3 separate regions of the Homo sapiens genome follow, and regions 2 and 3 are each linked to region 1. The links are contacts of gene promoters, found by promoter capture Hi-C in blood cells and fetal thymus (Javierre and others, 2016). All regions are on one chromosome and are shown on one strand. Each heading gives the region's core, a stretch centred on a gene start or on the middle of the fragment in contact. The rest is flanking DNA. Distances are from core to core; before and after follow the strand shown. Region 1 holds the start of LOC124903285 (a long non-coding RNA gene). Region 2 holds the start of HNRNPC (heterogeneous nuclear ribonucleoprotein C). Region 3 holds the start of SUPT16H (SPT16 homolog, facilitates chromatin remodeling subunit).

What was found. Contacts are between HindIII fragments. The CHiCAGO score rates a contact against its expected background, and 5 or more counts as called.
Region 2: a contact is called between the fragment with the promoter of HNRNPC here and a fragment that was not itself captured in region 1, in 1 of 17 cell types (non-activated CD4 T cells). The highest score is 6.1, in non-activated CD4 T cells.
Region 3: the fragment with the promoter of SUPT16H here is called in contact with a fragment that was not itself captured in region 1 in 1 of 17 cell types (fetal thymus); the score reaches 6.3 in fetal thymus.

What each region holds. Positions count from the first base shown.
Region 1 is chr14:22,922,589-22,925,179 of GRCh38, reverse strand. PRMT5 (protein arginine methyltransferase 5) reads left to right here. Exons shown (of 17, transcript NM_006109.5): 8 at 140-301; 9 at 471-548; 10 at 643-701; 11 at 788-910; 12 at 997-1,172; 13 at 2,020-2,129; 14 at 2,345-2,438. It overlaps PRMT5-AS1 (PRMT5 antisense RNA 1), which reads right to left. Exons shown (of 2, transcript NR_120600.1): 2 at 1,773-2,101. It overlaps LOC124903285 (a long non-coding RNA gene), which reads right to left and starts at 879. Exons shown (of 2, transcript XR_007064073.1): 1 at 739-879. The HindIII fragment of the contact is 8,606 bases long and covers 1-2,591 here.
Region 2 is chr14:21,268,124-21,270,714 of GRCh38, reverse strand. HNRNPC (heterogeneous nuclear ribonucleoprotein C) reads left to right here and starts at 1,273. Exons shown (of 9, transcript NM_004500.4): 1 at 1,273-1,417. RefSeq lists enhancers at 544-1,169, 1,273-1,532, 1,170-1,794 and a silencer at 1,103-1,182. The HindIII fragment of the contact is 8,584 bases long and covers 1-2,591 here.
Region 3 is chr14:21,382,741-21,385,331 of GRCh38, reverse strand. SUPT16H (SPT16 homolog, facilitates chromatin remodeling subunit) reads left to right here and starts at 1,313. Exons shown (of 26, transcript NM_007192.4): 1 at 1,313-1,470. The coding sequence starts at 1,405. It overlaps CHD8 (chromodomain helicase DNA binding protein 8), which reads left to right. Exons shown (of 38, transcript NM_001170629.2): 38 at 1-133. LOC107984643 (a long non-coding RNA gene) reads right to left here and starts at 1,059. Exons shown (of 2, transcript XR_001750627.2): 1 at 619-1,059. The HindIII fragment of the contact is 3,293 bases long and covers 644-2,591 here.

The sequences.
Region 1 (2,591 bases), core at 50-2,549:
CATCTTTTTTTTTAAAAAAAAAAAAAAAGAGAACTGTTGATCTGGGCCTTATTTTACACTAGGGCTCTTTGGCCATATACCATAATATTCCAGAATCTTGGTTTGAGGGCTGTGTCTGATGGTCTGACTTTTCTCACAGTTGGAGGTGCAGTTCATCATCACAGGCACCAACCACCACTCAGAGAAGGAGTTCTGCTCCTACCTCCAATACCTGGAATACTTAAGCCAGAACCGTCCTCCACCTAATGCCTATGAACTCTTTGCCAAGGGCTATGAAGACTATCTGCAGTCCCCGCTTCAGGTGGGTCTGGAGTGCACTTAGAGGAGGAAGGTGGGATGGAAAATGTTTCTTGAGAATATATGCCTCCAAATCTTACTAAAACTCAGAAAGCAGTGGAAAGTTTTTGATATTTTAGTGCATTGTCCTTTGCCAGAAACTGGCTAACTTTGTCCTTTTCCTCATTCATCAGCCACTGATGGACAATCTGGAATCTCAGACATATGAAGTGTTTGAAAAGGACCCCATCAAATACTCTCAGTACCAGCAGGTACTGTGTGGTGCCCAGGGTGAGGAAAGCACAGGGCCAGCATGACCTGGGGAGGATGGGATTACAACCATGGGATATTCTCTCCTCCCTCCAGGCCATCTATAAATGTCTGCTAGACCGAGTACCAGAAGAGGAGAAGGATACCAATGTCCAGTGAGTGCTTTCCCCTCAATCTCAGGGACTTGCATACCTATATCTGTATATGCCAAGTCTGCTTGACTCTTCCCTTTCTTTCTTAGGGTACTGATGGTGCTGGGAGCAGGACGGGGACCCCTGGTGAACGCTTCCCTGCGGGCAGCCAAGCAGGCCGACCGGCGGATAAAGCTGTATGCTGTGGAGAAAAACCCAAATGCCGTGGTGACGTGAGTAGCAACCTGCTTGCTGGGAAGTTAGTCCTCATTGCCAAATTTCCTTAACATCTCTCCTTACCTTATTGTCTCTGTTTCAGGCTAGAGAACTGGCAGTTTGAAGAATGGGGAAGCCAAGTGACCGTAGTCTCATCAGACATGAGGGAATGGGTGGCTCCAGAGAAAGCAGACATCATTGTCAGTGAGCTTCTGGGCTCATTTGCTGACAATGAATTGTCGCCTGAGTGCCTGGATGGAGCCCAGCACTTCCTAAAAGGTGCCCCCAGGTTGGGGTGTAGGTGGAGGGTGATGATGGGTGAGACAGCAACCTGGGAGGAGGGTACAGGGTTTAGGGGAAAGTGGGTTGGACCTGGGTCACATCATATGAGTTTGAGAGCCACTGCTTCACTGCCTCTGTGCCCCTAGCAAATGAAGTCATCTCTCCAAACCTTAGTGTTCATATTTGTAAAATGAAGGGAGTGGGCTGGGCGCGGTGGCTCATGCCTGTAATTGCAGCACTTTGGGAGGCCAAGGCGGGAGGTCAGGAGTTTGAGACCAGCCTGGGCAACATGGCGAAACCCCATCACTACTAAAAATACAAAAATTAGCCAGGCGTGGCGGTGCACGCCTGTAATCCCAGCTACTCGGGAGGCTGAGGCGCGAGAATCACTTGAACCTGGGAGGAGAAGGTTGCAGTGAGCTGAGATTGTGCCACTGCACTCCAGCCTGGGCAACAGAGCGAGACTCCATCTCAAATAAATAAATAAATAAATAAATAAATAAATAAATATGACATATGTACCCTGAGCTTAGCTTTCATCAGGAACTTTTGTGGGACTTTGTGACCCCACAAAAGTTAAGAACCACCAGATTAGACTATCTTGGGTTCTTTCAGTTTTAATCTGTGTGACTCTGTAAATTAACCTAGTAGTGGAATCCTCCATGACAGTAGTTGGAAGCAGGCTGGCTTAGTAATGTGACAACATGCATTTGTCTCTTTCTTCCATGCCCATGCCAACGTTGGTTGGTTTTGACATGGGAGGTTTGATCCTTCTGATCCTTCAGTTAGTACAGACATACCATTTCCCTCCCTCTGGAACTAATTTGACTCTCCTGCTGTGCAGATGATGGTGTGAGCATCCCCGGGGAGTACACTTCCTTTCTGGCTCCCATCTCTTCCTCCAAGCTGTACAATGAGGTCCGAGCCTGTAGGGAGAAGGACCGTGACCCTGAGGTAAAGAACCACTCTCTCTGGAAAGAAGTGGTACTCTTTAGTCCTCTTCTTTTTCTGTATTTGCATCAGCTATTTTCTTCTGCTGGGGATGAAGAGGTGAAGGAGAAGTTAGGGATTGGGGAAGCACTAAAGTAAAACTTTTTTTAATCCTTGGGGAAGTAGTTCTCTCTTGTGTGTCTTCCCCAACACTCTCTCTCTCTTTCTGTCTCTGACAGGCCCAGTTTGAGATGCCTTATGTGGTACGGCTGCACAACTTCCACCAGCTCTCTGCACCCCAGCCCTGTTTCACCTTCAGCCATCCCAACAGAGGTAGGTTCTTTTATGGCTGTCCTCTGACTAGAGGGGTACGGGCTTCTTCCTTCCTCCTGCTTTCTTCCCTTACTGTCCCTAGTCTGCCTTATCTACTCTTCCTTTCCTGGGTCTTGCTCATGCTTTATCAAGTTGTCTAGAGCTTCTGGCCCC
Region 2 (2,591 bases), core at 24-2,523, 1.7 Mb after region 1:
TAAAATAGTTTAAAGTGGTCTGGCGTGGTGGCTCACGCCTATAATCTTATCACTTTGGGAGGCAGAGGCGGGCGGATCACCTGAACAGTCTGGCCAACATGGCGAAACCCCATCTGTACTAAAAATACAAAAATTAGCTGGACATGGTGGCGCGCACCTGTAGTTCCAGCTACTCAGGAGGCTGAGGCAGGAAAATCGCTTGAACCCGGGAGGCGGAGGTTGCAGTGAGCCAAGATCGCGCCACTGCACTCCAGCCTGGGCGACAGTGACTCTGCCTCAAAAAAAAAAAAAAAAAAAAAAAAAAAAGAAAAGAAAAAAGAAACCGCTGGCTTAGTAGAGCTGATGCTACCCCACTGCGTGCGCAGTTCCTATAATGTAACCAGAGAGACTGGCAGGTGACGGGGGTAGGTAGGAGACAAGCCATTTCAAGAGGAGGGAAATTAAGGGACCAGATTTGGAAGGATGGGCCAATTTTGCTGGCACTTAAGATATTAGATGCCCTGGGGCCAGAGGCCAGGATTCTGCACTTCCTTTTTATATTGGAGAGGAATAAGGAAGTCAGTTGGTTTCGATGGAACATGTGTTGTCTGAAGAAGGGTTTAATAGGCCAAGAAGCAGATGTCTACGAGGTAGCTGACATTCGAATCTGGAACTGAGAAAGGGTCTGGGGTTGGAAAAACTGCAGGACTGGTTAGTTTTCTACACACTTTAACAAGGCCTAGTCACTGCTGCTCCCTCCTCATTTTAAGAAAAGTCCTTTCTTTATTCACATTGCACAACGGAGGCTTCATTTCGCGCTTTTTTTTCCCTAGGCCCGGGGCTGGGGCAGGTCTTTTGCGCCCGTCACCTAACTACGCCCCTCAACCCTTTCCCCGCCCCCGCGCAGCCGGAAATCCGAGGTCTGGGCGGATCTTCTACTAGGCACTCTAAGGGGCAGCGATAGGACGCCGCGGCCGCCAATCAGGCCTCCCAGATACCCGGATGTGAGACGGTGCGCGATACAAAGGCGAGTTTCCACCCAGAGGGTCGTCCCGTGCAATAGCCAATAAGCATTCTCCAGGCAATAAATGACAGGAAAACTAACCAGTTATAAACTAGTTTCTCTCACGCATGTGGAAATTCGCCTGCTTAGTCTAACCCACTGCTAATTGTGATTGGATATCATTGTGAGGAGCGGTTGAACTGTCTAATTAGGAGCGGGAGCGAAAAAACGCACAGCCAATAGGAAGATTCTCAGGAATGGGGCGGGGACTAGGCCTTCGCCTCGGCGGCAGAGGAGACTCGGGGGCCATTTTGTGAAGAGACGAAGACTGAGCGGTTGTGGCCGCGTTGCCGACCTCCAGCAGCAGTCGGCTTCTCTACGCAGAACCCGGGAGTAGGAGACTCAGAATCGAATCTCTTCTCCCTCCCCTTCTTGGTAAGTGGAGAGGGCGGACGCAGGGAAGGCGCTGGGTTTTTCGGGAAGCGAGAGGGGGTGTGGGAGAGAAGATGTGGGAATCCTTCCCCCTAACTAACCGGGCCCTCATTTATTCTGCTTGTTTTGGGGGATTAGGTTGAAGCCGGGGGCAGTTTTATAGGCCTCAGCCTCTGTATAGGTTTAACCTGGTGTCCTCTAGGCCACGATCGCCAGGGAAAATGTCCTTTTTTCGCTCTTCCTGTGTTAACGGCTGCTTTCCTTTCATTTTCTACGACCGCGAGGACTACGGGATCATGAAAATGAAGATCGTGATGCTCATTAATATAGTCGAAGTTAACGTAGCGCCGATGCCTTCTATTACCTCCGTTCTTCTTACATGTAAAAAGTGGGGGAGGGGAAGGGGGAAGGTTACCAAGTAGATGTATCGCGAGCCTTTAAATCCTGGATCGTGCCGCGTGGCCTACGAGAAAGGTTTAACAAAAGATTCAGCATTTTACTGATAACTTTTTATTTTATTTCTCTCTATGAGCAAATGATGGAGCTCGAAGTAGTTATTTTCACTTACATTTGTAAAAGGAAATATTGTGATATAACTATATTAATATTTACAGCTGACTTTTCATCTGCAGGTTACAAAACACTTGAAATATATAAGTTAGTGGAACTTTGCTTGAGGTAGGTATTAACTCTCTTTCTCAGACGGAAACTGAGGCAGAAAAGTGTTGGTTGCTAGGGTCATATTAAGTCAGTAGCAGCACTAGTAAGGAATTTGACCACGAGGTCAGTCGAGTGGTTTTTACCTAGTTAATGGAATACCTAGTTAATATAGTTCTAAAACTACTGTATTGCAATCTTTGCCAAGAACCTGATGACGGAAACCACGAGGTAACTGGAAATTCCCAAATTGCGCTTAAGAAAAATACTACGAGACTTGAGAATTTTTTAACGTAACTTCCTAAGTGTAAGATGACAAAATTTGACTTTCGGGATATTCTGGCGTTAATTTTCCCGTCCGCCTAAATGTGGGCAAAAATTCACAGCTACGTTATATTAAGCAAATATTAACAGTGCCTATTATTTGCTGGGTGCTGAAATTTGATAAAAAACTTAAAAGTTAAAAAAAATTGTTTAGATCTTTAGTGTCACATTGACTTATCTGGGACATCGCTTTTTT
Region 3 (2,591 bases), core at 64-2,563, 1.5 Mb after region 1:
TTAACCACAGACTATGTAGCGCTGGCCCTAGCCTCTGGCAGAGCCTGTTCCTGGCCGAACTGTGGATACAGCTGGAGGGTCAGGAACTGTTACCTTCTTTCCCCTTGGCATTAATAAATTTAAGTTAATCCTTTTCCACTCTTCCTTTGTTCTATGTTTGCTCAAACCCAGTGTATTGATTTTGAGTTGTTAATGGTGGGTAATTTCAGCACCACTTTCCTTAAGTTCAATACTGTTTATACTAAATTGCCTTACAGCAGACAAGTCATCTGTACTCCTCTAAAGGGTATATACAAATGTAGACTGTCCAGCTGGCTAAAGGCAAGGGAATTATTTAAGGTAAATGGTAGGTAGGCAAACTTCTGGATTCAAACTCCAAGTTTTTAGAAGAGACAGGGAGCAAGAATGTCATCAGGAACCATTTATGTTTTGTTTCTAATTAACTGAAGTAACGGTTATTTGGGGGAAGCCATAGAATAGTGCCAGTTTTCATGAACTGCAGCAAGGGGACTGGCCGACTGGAAGGATGCTGCCGCGACTTGGGCTCAGGGGGTGGGGTTGTGGGAAGGAACTAAAAGTTTGTAGAGCCCCTCAAGTCATCTGTTTCCTCTGACTTACACCATCCCACTGCTCAGTTAAAGCTTGCGCATATTATTTTCCTTTCGAAAACTAGGTTCCTCCCCCAGCTTGGGTCGTAGTTTATCACGAGGCTGGGCTCCATTTCCCTGGTATGAGTCCTCTGTCCCGGCGGAGCGCTTGACCCAGCATCCTGGCACCGAGGATCCCTCGAGTCCTGGAGCAGTCAAGGGCTTTTGCATTCCCATCATTTCTAGGAGGGGCGCATGCCCAGTTACACTGTAGTAGTCCCACTTTTATCCCACGCTAGATCCCGCTCTTTCCGCTCCCCCTTCCTTTGCAGATGGGGTGGAGCTATAACACCCGCGCGCGGCAGCTCTTGTGGGCGGGGCAGGCGCCGCCTCCTTCGCTTCGTCTAGGGACTGCCGCCTCGGCAAAAAGTCTGAGGTCCTGGAAACCGCCGCTGGGCTGAGAGTTAATAAGGGCGGAGGCAGACCGTCACGTGACGACGTCGATTCGCGTGCGGCAGTGGCGAAGTTGACAAACCCCGCGAAAATCGACTCTTTGCATCGCACATTTTGTTGATTTTCCCTCGTTTTTCTTTCTCTCTTTCCCCCGTCCATCCGAAAGAGGGTTGGAAAAAAACAAAACAAACAAACAAACAAAAAAAAAACCTAACGCTGTTGGGACCCGGAAGCGGAAAGGGCATCTTTGAGGTCGATACTTCCGGGTCATTGGGAGAGTGCGGGATTCCTGGGCCGAGAGCGGGTGGCTGAGCCGGGACCTCGCGTGATTCTCGGAACCCGAGGAGAAGCGGCGTCCGGGGCTATGGCTGTGACTCTGGACAAAGACGCTTATTATCGGCGAGTGAAGAGACTGTACAGCAATTGGCGGGTGAGGAAGATCCTGTAATTTTTCCTAGGGAGCCCCCTTAGCCATCCCATAATAACCCTGTTTCTCGGCGCCCTTTTTTCTCTTTCGGTCAGGAATTCCCGGGTTCTGTGCCTCACCCTTTTCGTTGCTCCCGAATCATTCACCGGAGGCGGCCACGAACGCTGCCCCTTAACAGGGAATCCCCCGCATTCACCCTGTCCTGCGGCCATCACCATCTTCCCCGCGTGCCAGCCTTGGTCATGCATAGCAGCACCTCTCGCAGTCTCTTCCCGCCCTAGAAGAGGCAACATCCTTCCCTCCTACTCCGTGGTCACGTCTTGCTGCCCTCCCCTGCCGTGTTCTCACGCACTCGCTCTGTCCCTCCAGAACCACAATATTCCACCCCTGGTCCCGCCAGGATTATAACCGTCTTCGTAAAGGAGAGATGGAAGGGCAAGGAGGATGTCAATCGGGCTTTTAGCGTTTATCGTTTGCGGGGCTTTTGCTGGAGTTAAAAAAAGAAATACTGCTCACGCGCAACCGCCTCATGTTCTAGGCCCTGCTGTGGGTTACAGAGAGGGACCTAACGCTGAAAGCCTGCAGGCATTAGTAATAACAAAACAAAACAAAACGATGCCTAAAACCTTATTAGTTCCTTGGTAGCGTATCCGGGGCACGTGTTCATTAAAAGAGCTGTGGCAGTTCCCAGTTTTTTAAAGATTCGGCAGTTTTGCTGCTCTAAAAACGTCCACAGTTAAAACTTATTTTTATGATGTTAACTTACTAATTGAGCAAACATTTGGTTGCATTCTGTGATGCAGTCTGAGTTGGCTAGCTTAAGTCTTGCCCCTGAACCCTGTCATCAAGGGAAGATACAGCTAATAAAGATTTTTTTTTAACCTGAAAAACGTTTTGAGAAAAATGATCAGCTCTCATTTCAGCATTGTAAATTATCTTTCAAACTGGTCATCTACTAAAACCAAGCCATTAAAATTGGTCGTTTCCTTGCCATTCATATTAAAGCTGTCTGTGCATGTTTCATCTTTTGGGGCTAAATACATTAGATAATTGAAAATAAAATTGATTCTCTTGCATTTTATGAAAAGGAAAAATAAGAACTAAATGCTAGATGAATACTGAAC